2 separate regions of the Homo sapiens genome follow, and region 2 is linked to region 1. The links are contacts of gene promoters, found by promoter capture Hi-C in human tissues and cell types (Jung and others, 2019). All regions are on one chromosome and are shown on one strand. The core of a region is centred on a gene start or on the middle of the fragment in contact, and the rest is flanking DNA. Distances in the headings are between cores, read along the strand shown. Region 1 holds the start of SH2D4B (SH2 domain containing 4B). Region 2 overlaps NRG3 (neuregulin 3).

Region 1 (5,988 bases), core at 265-2,764:
GTTGTCCCTGCCCCGTGCCCTCTTGTGGTCGTAGGTATCTGGCGGCCCGGGAAAGACAAAAAGAAGCTGCCCGCAGGAGCCCAGACCCTGGGGGCCTTCCTCCCCTTGTCTCCTCTTTGGACTCGGGGGTCTCCCACCAGCCACGGCGAGGGGGAGAAAGAGAATAGCTGGGCAGAGGCTAGGGAAGACCCCCGGTCTCAGAAACTGAGGGGAGCCAGGACTCCCGGTGGGGGAGTCGGTGCAAGCCCTGAGGTGGGTGGATGGGAGTCCAGGGCCACAGCTCTGCAGCGGACAGGCGAGTCCTGTGGCGGCTCTAGGAAGGTCTGGGCACACTGGGACCAGCTAGCTGGACCTGGGTGGGGAGGGGTGGGGCGTCTGACTCCACTCCTGTGACCTGGACATTGCCTAGCTGAGCAGGAGCTTTGACCCTATGGGCTTACAGCTCATCTGAATCTGCTTAGTCCATCTTCCTGTTGTGTTAACCTTGCAGAGGGGGAAGAATGCCAACTCTCCACCCCTCTTCCATCACTCTTGGGTACCTGATCCACCTTCCACCCTCATGGGCAAGGAAGGGGACAGGAAGGTCACCAATCCAACCAAGCCACAGTGCCAAATCCTGTTGGTTCGTTTGTTTTCCCTTGGTTGGGTTATGTTTTCAAACCATCAACAGATTCATAGTTGCTAGTGGATGTCAAATTTCAAAACGGGGGAGTCCCAATACAGTGACTTGTCCATTAGGAAGCCATAGGCAAGCCACTTACTTTCTCTGAGCTTCAATATCCTTGTCCCAATAAGAAGGCATCTGTGATTTGCTCTGAGCACATATTTAGGGTGAGCTTTCACCCTAAAGATCTCAGCAACGGCAGCTTCTACCCACCTTCACACACCAAAGAGAGGGTGGCTTCCCTCCCAGCAGAAGGCAACATCCCGCCATTCCAGTGTGCTTCTGATCAGGGCACAGAGAAGAGCCAGTTTCATCTTCTTTCTTTTTGGTCAACTCCAGGCATCTGCAACAAACAAGATTAACAACGACCATTAAAACTGGCCCCTGGAGGGTTTATCTGTCAGCCACGCATGGCTGCAGGATCTCATTATATATAGGCCAAAGGGAAAGGATGTCTGCTTCCTTTCTGTCCTGGAATTCCAAGATAAAATCCCCTCCAGTTGTCTCTACTGATTCCATTTTGTTTTCTTTCTTGGCTGTAACACAGATAGGAGGAAAAATCTTTCCTCCCCCAAGGCAGAGTTTTAAACGCATCATCTCAGAATGCCAAATGTTCTGGAAAGGAAGAAAGTTGGCAGCGAAGGAACCCGCAGAGAGAGGGGCTGAGAGGGCTGAGGGGCCCAGCAGCTTCTGGCAGGCTCCTCTGGTCTGTGTTTGAAATTGGCTGAAAAGACATGGAATTTAGTAGGCAAGTCTGCCTCCTTCTCCTCCTCTTATCTGCAGAGGAGAGATCAGTTCCCAGCTGGCCGGGGCAGTGTCATTGATATAGCTGGTGTCATTGTTACCTTCCACTAACAGATCACTCGACACCTACCAGCCCAGGCAGGGCTGGGACTGGGCATTTCCTGGCTGAGCTGGAGGCTTGGGCCCTTCCCATTGTCTCAGAACCCCAGGTGATGCCAAGACATGGGCTCTCCTGGGATGCCGTGCTTGGTGACCCAGGAGAAGGACTAGATTGCTCCTGGTGGTTGCTCCCCCTTGCAGAGTCCCACCTGCCCCTTTGGGTCCTGTTGCCTGGCCTCTTTTGCTGTCCTGGGTAGAGGAGATGAGTTCGTCGCTGGCTGCAAGCTGAGGCCAACTGACAATGCTGCACAGAGAAGGGGCACCGAGAGTGGCCCCGGATTGAGCAGTCCGTAGTGCAGAGCAGCCCCTCGGGCGTTCTGCCTGGCCCTGCTTCCCCTGCTGGCTGCCCTTCTGGTGCGTGCATCCCAGGTGGCATCATGCTGCAGCAGATCCTGCACGACATGTACATCGACCCCGAGCTCCTTGCCGAGCTCAGCGATGTGCAGAAGCACATCCTCTTCTACAAAATGCGGGAGGAGCAGCTGAGGCGCTGGAAGGAGCGGGAGACTTGGGAGGCCCTGGCCCAGGACGAGGGTCTCAGGCCTCCAAAGACCAAGCGAGGTACGTGGCTGGGAGTCACAGAGAGGTAGGCCACCAGTCCCCCAGGAGGTAGAAAAATTAGCAGGGCCAGGCTGTGCCCTTCTTCAAGATGGGCACTGGGGTGATGAGGGCTGGGGGCTTGAAACCCTTGTCTTGTGGGCATCAGGTCCCATGAGCCTGTGCTTTTGCCTTTTGGCCAGGACCTTAGGGCTTCGAGGCTGCTGCAGAGGCTGTCCAGCGGCCCTTATTGGAGTCGGGGAGTTGGGACTTGCTTTGTCTTGTTGTGGAAGGCCCGAGTTCTGGGAAGACACCATTGAGACTTCAGATTGTGCTCCGACGTGGTTGGCAATGGTAGGGTGAACGACGGCATATTTGTGACCCTTGCCATTGGTTCTGGGCCAGAGTGTGGTGTAGATATGCAGTTCCTTTCTCCTTGGCATGCGTGGCACACCAGTTCTTGGCTAGGGCCCCTTCTGTGGACTGTGCCTCTCCCTCCAGATCCTCCGGCAGGAGGATGCTGTGGGTTGTCTCTGGAGCCCCACTGGGCATCCGGAGAGAGGGCATCAGGGAACGTCCCACACAATGAATGACCATCCCCAAATGGTCGTAGCAACTGCAGATGAGAAGCAAGGGCCTAGCCTACATTTCAGGTGTTTTGTATGCAAAGTCATGTGCCAGTCAATCCTATGGACTGGTACACCTGTGGGTGAAGGAAATCATCCAGGACCCCTGGGCCAGAAACTGGCAGGCTGCTGAGGCTTGGCTTGGCACAGGACTCAATCCTGCCAGGGATTGTAGTTTCTGTGGATGCTGCATGCACTTTACAGTTTGCAAGGCTTATGTGCCTTCACCCTTTGAAGTTTTCAATCCAGAACAAAGTCCTGTTTCAGGGCTGAGCACACAGCTCCCTTGGTGATCTGGCTCTTCTCCATGCCAGGCTCACTGCTGGCCAGTCCCCACCAGGTGCCACAGGCCACACCCACATCATCTGGACATGCTTGCTCTTGTCTCTGGTCTTCACATGAGTGGCTCTCACCGTTGGGAATGTCCTTCTGCCTTCATCCACCTGACAGACTCCATCAGGAGTGGCCCCCCTGCCCTGGAGTGTTCAGGGATGCTCTTGCATAGGGCAGTACTTGCTCCTCTGTGGCTGCCTGGCATGTAGGACCCACGCCTGCCCTGGCATTTGCCACCCTGTCATTGTCATTCCTCATCTGCTTGCCTGGCTCTCCGATGGGCTCAAAGGCACTGGTGTGTGAGGGCTTCCTCCACTCTATCTTCCTCCCCTGGGCCCAGCACAGAGGTGGCACATGGTGTTAAATCCTTGTTTTGAACAAGACACAGCAGGACCCTGCCGGGGAGGTTGGGGCAGAGCTGTGACTTGGCTGCAGGTGGCTGCTGCCAAAGCTGGGGCCTTCCGGGCTGGGCTGCGCTGGCAGCTGCATCACTAACTGGTGAAATGACAAGCCACCTTGCCAGCACCACCCGGCCTGAGCCCTGGGGACTCATGATGCCTGCATGATGACTCTTCTTGGAGGGAGACAGATGCCTAAAAATTTAACTGCAAAAATATTTATACAGAGATTTGTCACACATAGACATCTACATTTTCATGTATAAATTATACATTAAACTCATTTGAGTTTCTGGTGCAGAAGATCCTTTTTCTGGTAATTAATTTTCTGATTTATAAAGAATGGAAAAGCAGGAAAGCACGCCGAGGAATGTGTGTATCCCAGGTCAGGATCCCGCTTGGATCCTGGCTCTTTGCTTCGGTCCTGCCTTTTGGAACTGTCTGGGCATGCCACTGGGGAGCCTGGGGGCTGGCCCTGCCCAGGAGCCGGAAGAGCTTTCGGCCGGAGGGTCCAGGATATACAGTATCTGCTTCATGTCCTGGGGTCGTGATGAAGGGTGGCAACAACTTGTGAGCTTTACGTTGACTGGGTGCCTACCCAGCCCTTGCTGCTCCCGTGTCCCTGCGGGGTGGCAGGGCAAGCTCCCTGATTTCATTGCAGATAAGGAAGGTGAGGCTCAGAGAAGTGATGCGCTACATCCAAGGTCATCCAGCTGCTACATCTCATGACTTGGATCTGGGGTCTGGTGACTGATTTTTTTTCTGTTCATTCACTTCCAAACTCGGAACTCCAATTAAACAAGTGAGCTGTGCACACATTCACTTGTTCACTCATTCACCAATTCATTCACTTATCCAGCATTACTATGTGCTGATTTCAGTGAATGGGGCAGTGCTTGTCCTGGAGACGGTGGGTAGATGGATCATAGGGAACACAGCCAACTCGAGTGCCAAGGGTGAGGCTTGGTTCAAAGCAGCCGTGCCGTGTCCCAGGGCGGGAATTGTGCGGGGACGGGCTCCACGGAGGAATCTTCTCTTCCTTCCCTTGATGTTGCCAGAGGACTCAGGAGGCTCTCCAGATGCTGGTGAGACCCCAGCCCCAGTTGATGTCCAGGCTCTTGAAACTGTCTTGAGAAAGAACTCGGGAATGAGTCAGAATGATAGGAAAGGCAAGAAACTGTTAGTGAGAAGCGAAAGTACACACTTGAGAGAGAAGTGCGGGCGTGCTCATGAGAACGTGTCACACCCAGCAGAGTCTGGGTTTCTAATTTTATGGGTGTTTCTTTAATTAGGGGATGGAACAATTATTAGGTGTTCTGGAAGAGGAGGAGATTTCAGGGAACCCCCTGGGTTACTGTCTCCTTTCTCCCTTCTTTGGGTTTGCCCAGAAGAGCCATGGACAAGTCACCCTGAGTGGGATTTCAGCTGTTTTTACTCTCTTCCTTTGGGTTTTCTGTTATCTTGTTGTTTCTTTGTCTTGTTCTTGTTTTAGCTGTTGTTTGGGTTTTTCCATGCTCCTGTGACCACCCAGTGCTATTCTTGTCTCATTGACAGGCATCCTCTTTCCTGGTCCCCTCCCTACACATTTTTTTTCTGAAGGAAGCACCTGCTGTAGCCCTGCTGAGCTGTTTGCTGGCCCCTTGGGATCCCTGAGCATGACGTGGGTTAGTCCTGGTCAGCCTAGAGTGACACTGGGCCTCCTCCGGGCCATCGTCCCCAGTGCTCTAAAGCCTTCCCTCTCCCCTCTTTTCTGGGAACATTCCTCGCTCCTGGCAAGCCTGGCTTTGCCATCCCTTGGGCTCAAGTAACACTCCCCATGTCCCTACAGACAGGCAGGCAGGACAAGGTGTGCCTTGTGCCTGAGAACCTCACAGCCCCGGAGTTGTGCCTGGTGAGGGTGCGAGTAAACACTGGTGATGTGAATCATTCTCGTTTACAGAACCTAGGAGGTTTTCTTGATTCTGAGATCCACATTTGGAACCCACAGAAGTAAGCTTGGGTGAAAGCTTAGAGGCGGACTGTGAAAGGTAGGAAGGAGAGGAGATGAGGGCACGGCTGGACACATCACTCCTCTGAGCACATGGCATTTCTTTTCTGTTTTCACTTTACGCTTTGGCAAGAACCCTCTGATGTTCTATGCTGTGGTGGATGGTGTGGACCCCTCAGCTTGGTAGGTTTTTTAAATCTAACATCATGCTTATTGTGCTATCACGTTTCTGACAAAGTTCGTTGTCCAGTATATTGAGTATATTGAGACTCAGAGAAGGCATGTTATCACATTATGTCCCAGCAAGACTTCAGTCAAACCCCTCTAGCATGGCCACGACCTGTGCAAGCTCGTTCTCTCCTCATTCTCCTTGGCCACCACAGGAATGCACATCCTGTGTTAGGAATTATGAACTTCACAACCCTGTGGACTCCTCTCTGCTTACTCAGTCATCCCAGGTTCTCAGGGCCAGAGCTGGGTGTGACCAGGGGACACAGGACTGAGGACACATGTCCACACTACTGACCCAGGAAGCTTCCC
Region 2 (5,707 bases), core at 1,989-4,488, 1.3 Mb after region 1:
TTTTGGAGAGAATTTGTGTGAAAATAGGCATGTCTGCACTGCATTCCCTTGGCCACTTAGCAGTTACTGTGAATTAGATTCTCAAGAATTAATAGGTTGATTGTATCCATCAAGGAGCTCTTTTAAAGATACTGTTTGGATTTGTACTTTGGGGAACTTTAATATTAGCATTTTGGAAATATATTTCTTCAAATCTGTGTTTGTTGGAAATCTCATCCTGAATTATATCTTAAAGTATTACTTTTTGTTGTTATAAGCTTTTATTTCTCAAGACAGGTTGGTGATTGTACATAAATCATAGATTGCCATTCCTGGGCCTAAAAAGGGATCAGTCAGAAGCAAACCTACAAACTGAATTCAGAATTAAGTTTAATAATGGAAGTTTAGCAGCTTCCAGTGCTAAGATTTTGTCTTTGAGGCCTTTTCCTGGAAGTGATAGTGTGTATCATGGATGCAATATAGGCCATACGAACATTTTTTTAAAGAAAAGGTCAGCTGAATCCATGCAACTACTTTAGCATTAGTATGTTACAGCCAGGGTTATGGGAATAGAATTTTTATGCTAAACGTTTGATAAGAATTCTTAAATATATCAGCCTTCCTCCTCAGATACCTTCCTATGACTACATGCAACCTCTGGCATGATTTCCTGTGAATTGCCAGGGAGCTAGAAATCCACTAAAAGAGAAAGCCACACCCTCATCATCATCAGATTTTCTTCATTTTTGTAGCTTGAATTTTACTTTTAGTAATGTAGAAGGATTAGTCACAGATAATCAGTCTTGGAAGGGGCTTAAGAATTTAAGTAATAATAAAAACGACAGCTGCCATATGTGGAGGGTTACCGTGTGCCTGGGCATGTAGCACTGTACATTCTTCGTGTTATTTATTTTTGAAATAAGGATTGAAAAACAATCATATCTAGGCCTGCAGCCTAGGTTTGATTATCTCACTGATAGAGTTAATCAAGCTGGGCTTAGGATATATAATTTGCCTAGGACTTGCAGAAATTGTTTGGATAATCAAGAAGACTGGAGGAGTGTTTTACAGGTAATCTCTCCCCACCTCAGTCTTACTTACCTAATTCACTGTTATAGTGTCACTATATCCATTTGTACATTGCTTCTGTCAAGCACTTCACACACAGATAGTGGCATTTGCCACTGTAAACTCCATAAATAGCTCACCTGCACTGTACCTGTTCTTTGCTCTGATATGGAGGAATCTAACTAGAGAAATTGCCTGGGTTTTCTGTCTAAGGAGAAATTCAGATGTTTCGGTAAAAGATAAAGAATATGTTGTTCTGAATGTTGTCTTCTTGTTTATTTTTTAAGTTTTGTTGATATGTAATTGATATGCAATGTGCTCTCCATACACATCCTTGGGTTCTGCATCTGTGGATTTAAGCAACCAGGGATCAAAAATATATTTAAAAATAAAAACAACAACACAACAATTAAAAATACAAATAAGAAACAAGTATAGTATAACAACTATTTACATAGCATTTACACTGCTTGTAAGTTCTCTAGTGATGACTGAAACTATATGGGAGGCTATCCTTAGGTTATATGCAAATACCAGGCCATTTTATGTAAAAGACATGGGCATCCTAGGATTTTGATATCCTGGGGGAGAGGAATCCTGGAACTATTCCCCCCTGGAATACCAAAGGATGACTGTACAAAAAATTGTACATATTTAATGTGTACATATCGATGAGTTTGGACATGCATATACCTATTAATGCTGTCACCACAGTCAGGGTACTAAACATATCCATCACCTCCAAAAATTTCCTTGTGTTCTCTTGTGGTTTTAATTTTGTTTAGGTAGAACATTTAACATGAAATCTATCTTCTTTTTTAAGTATGCAGTATTATATTGTTAACTAAGTACTATGTTGTACAACGGATCTCTAGAACTTATTCCTCTTGCATAACTAAATCTTTGTACCCATTGAGCAACAGTTCCCTACCTCTAAACTTCTGTTCCTTGATCTTTTTAACTCTCTATTTTCTCTTATGGCTGCTTGTAGGTGATTCAATGTAACAATGACAGAAAACAGTTACAGACTTTATTCCTCTGCTTCCTAAAATCCAGTCAAAATTGCCTTCTCTGCCCATTCCAAGCTTACTTTTGGTTACAATAGTGACTGCAGTGTATGCTGAGACTGATCAATGGAAAAGTGTCAGGGAACATTTGGAATGATAGCCTTTTAGTTCTGTAGACACTAAAGTACTGACTCTACCAAATCAATGATGGGAGTTGGAGCTGCATGCAATGCCTGCTGCAGAACATCTGAATTCCATCTTGGAGCCACACTGCGAAGTACCCATCACTGATTATCTACCAGTTCTAAGAAGGGGAACATTGGTGAGACCTTGATATTCTGCCGGGGGTACTACAAACTAGACCCAATCATTGCTTACTTGCTTGACATTTTTGTTTGCCAAGTGTTCTTTTAGCTAGAAGAAAAAAATTCTCTTTTGGTTAAAGTAAAAGATAGTTGAGATTGTTACTTTTACAAACTTATAAAAATAAAATGGAAATAGATCAAGTTCTAAGATCACGTGACACTCATTTGAATAGCCATGCTGAAGGATAGGAATACTGTAGTGTCAGAAAGATTGTATTGTCAACATCCTGTAAGACTGTAAATGAATCCCATAAACTAACAATGACAGTTGTGCTCATTGTTAGTCTATGAGGGGGGCCACTGGGGTTGTTTGCCCAAATTTATTGTTAGACCAAAGCTTTTTTCAGCATGGTGGAAAAATCTAGAGACACCAGAATTTTTTAAAAAATGGGCTGTAGAAATGTTTATATTAAATGATAGCTTGACTGAATTCTATTTCATTGACTTTTCAGTATGATACTCTCTGTTTCTGGATTAAAAAACTAACACATTTCGGGTGTGGGGGAGGTAGAGCATCAGGATAAATAGCTAATGCACGCGGGGCTTAATACATAGGTGATGGGTTGATAGGTGCAGCAAACCACCATGGCACACGTTTACCTATGTAACAAATCTGTACGTCCTGCACATGTATCCCAGAACTTAAATAAAATTAAAAAACAAAAACAAAAACTTCTGACAAATGCCCACTCCATGCCGAGCAGGTACAGTTGGTAGCACTTCTGTCTTAACCAAATGAAAGCTGCCTTGGTTAACAGGTATTAGTTATATTAGCTCCCAAACCTGTTTATGCTGATTGTTTTTGTTACTGTAATTGGGTAATGCATTTAAGTATTCTATAAATCTGTGAATTGTGGTTTCTATTAAAACGAAGTTCATTACATTGGATATAATCCATAAACATAAGTCACTTTAAAAAAAGTGCTTCTTCTACTTGACAAAGTTGTGAGAAGTTTAACGAGAATATATTTATATATCCATAAGAAATTTGCACTTGTATTGTTTCACATGTTAAGATTTTATTCCACAATAAACTAAACTGGAAAAATCACATTATACATTATGGGTATGGTTTTTCATAAGAAGGACAACAGATGTTTACTCAGAGAAAAGCCTTGAGCTCTATAACCAAATATTTGGCAAGTGAATGTGCATTTGTATGTTTTAAGTTAAAATAATAAGTAAAATAAATTTTGTTTACCCATGTGATAGATATTACAAAGCTATTAAATTTTGTTGTACTAATTTTAAAGCTTTCGGGAAATGTTTGGTATATAATTTTTATCTAAAACTTTGGGTAGAAAATTATATAAGATATCCATGATATTAAGCTTTACTGGTCACTAGATTTAATATATAGTAACTGTATTCAAAGGAAGTATACCAAATTGTTCATGGTAGTTCTTTCTGGATTTTGGAATAGGGATGCTGTTTAATTTATTGTACTTTTTTGTATTATCTAAGTTTTAGTTATTGTTCATGAATTATCTTTTTTTCTAATTAGAAGTTGTTATACTTTTGAAAAATGTAAAGAATATACTCCATGAATCAGTTCAATTATTGGTCTTGGTTCTGTGAAGATTGTTTTTTCTTTATGTCTAAAGAGTTTGTTTCTTAATTGGTGGTGTCAGCATTAAAATGTTGATGGAGTTGGGTTGCTGCTGTGAAATGCAGATGTGTAGAAGTGCAAATGCATTTCCATTTGCTCATGGGAAATAATGCCTTATTGAAGGCAGAGTTTCTTACTCTGGGCCTTTGATGATTAGCCTTGACTTTATAAGGGTATAGAAGATGGGAGTTTAATGAGATACTTAATGGCTCTTCCAGTCTGCAGATGTTAGACAGTCTTAGTAGTATTGCTATACAAGGATATAGCCAACAGAAATCAATAAGTTATATACACATATTAATCAACTATCTGATCTATTCCAAGGATCAAATGAAAAGAGAACACAAAGGCTAATTGACAGTGCTGAGTACTAGAAAGGAGATGTTTGGTCAAACATGAATGGGTGGGATAACCAGTTCAAAGGTTTACTGGATGCTATAAGCCTCTCCCAGAATCATAAGATATTTATTCTTATATTAATTTTCAGTGGCTGGAACATAGACAGACTCCAGAGTCCATAGGAGAGTGGTGATTTGTAGGGCACATGACCCATAAGTTTGGTGATGAGTTGTGCTCAAAGTCCTTCAAATAGTTCACAAATGCAATGTTGGTCCAAAAGAGCCAGAACAAATATATGATTCTATTTATATACTGTGTAACAATTAGAAGTCAAGATGGTGATTATCTTTGGGGAGGAGGGGCAGGTAGTGAATGGAAGGGGACCCAGGTGTAGGTTTTCCTGTATTGATAATATTGTGCTGCTTGATATGGGTGCTGGTTACATGAGTGAGTTCACTTCATCAAAATTTAGTAACTTCTATACTTTTGATTTGTGCACTTTTTGTATACATCAATACTAACTTGAAAAAATAAGAGAAAACTTCAGGAACATTCCTTTGGCCTTTACCACTTCATGCAACCAGGGTGGTGGCCTGAGTTTATAGGTTTTTCCATGTACAGAGACTGGATGGTAGCTCTGAAAGTTTGTTGTTGGTGTCTCACAGTCCAGCAGATGCAAAGAGGGTCTTCCTGGCTTCAGCATTTTCCTTTGTTCTCAGGATCCCCTCTTAGTGAGACTTCATGCAAACACCCACATTCCCTTTTGACGTAAGCCTTTCTGAGTGGACACCTTGTATTTATATTCAATAAAACCCTATTTCACTCATATCAGGAGTGTTCCTGATATAACACATTGCGACACTTTTCACATATCTTAACACATGTAAAACCCCACTTGTATCCTGAGAATGGCATTATTACAGTTCTGCAAACATTAAAGTGTGATATACACAAGAAAGATAATTCATCATCTGCATCTGTGGTTTTTGTTGAGAAGATCAGAAGATATGCACCAAAGAATCATTAAGTGCTGAAATGTGTGATTCCAAATGAAAAGCATATGAGGCCATTTCAGAAAGTAGTGCTTAGAGGGAGAAAGGTAGTTTCAAGGGAGAATTTCCTTAGGCAGAGTAATAGAGAAGGGAGGCCCAGGGAGGGAAAGGTCATTAATAAAGGTAGAAGTTTGCATGTACCCACCTATATGGGAGCCAGTGAGGGTTCTGACCTGGTAGACAGACGGCCTCACCTTTTCCTTGGAGCAGCGCCTGATTAAGGAGGGAGGGTTTTGGAGGACACAGCTTGATTCTATGTTAAGCCACAGTCAGAATGGGTTGCAAGGA

The links. Contacts are between HindIII fragments. The study calls those that stand out against the background at their distance.
Region 2: a fragment that was not itself captured here is called in contact with the fragment with the promoter of SH2D4B in region 1 in 1 of the 25 tissues and cell types used here (dorsolateral prefrontal cortex).

Annotation. Positions count from the first base shown.
Region 1 is chr10:80,536,388-80,542,375 of GRCh38, forward strand. It overlaps SH2D4B (SH2 domain containing 4B), which reads left to right and starts at 1,515. Exons shown (of 8, transcript NM_001388272.1): 1 at 1,515-2,128. The coding sequence starts at 1,945. RefSeq lists enhancers at 3,219-3,358, 4,396-4,575, 4,726-4,785, 4,956-5,075. The HindIII fragment of the contact is 9,237 bases long and covers 1-5,724 here.
Region 2 is chr10:81,883,102-81,888,808 of GRCh38, forward strand. All of the region lies in intron 1 of NRG3 (neuregulin 3), which reads left to right. Among named protein-coding and RNA genes, the nearest start is that of NRG3, 11 kb to the left of the region's middle. The HindIII fragment of the contact is 4,089 bases long and covers 1,195-5,283 here.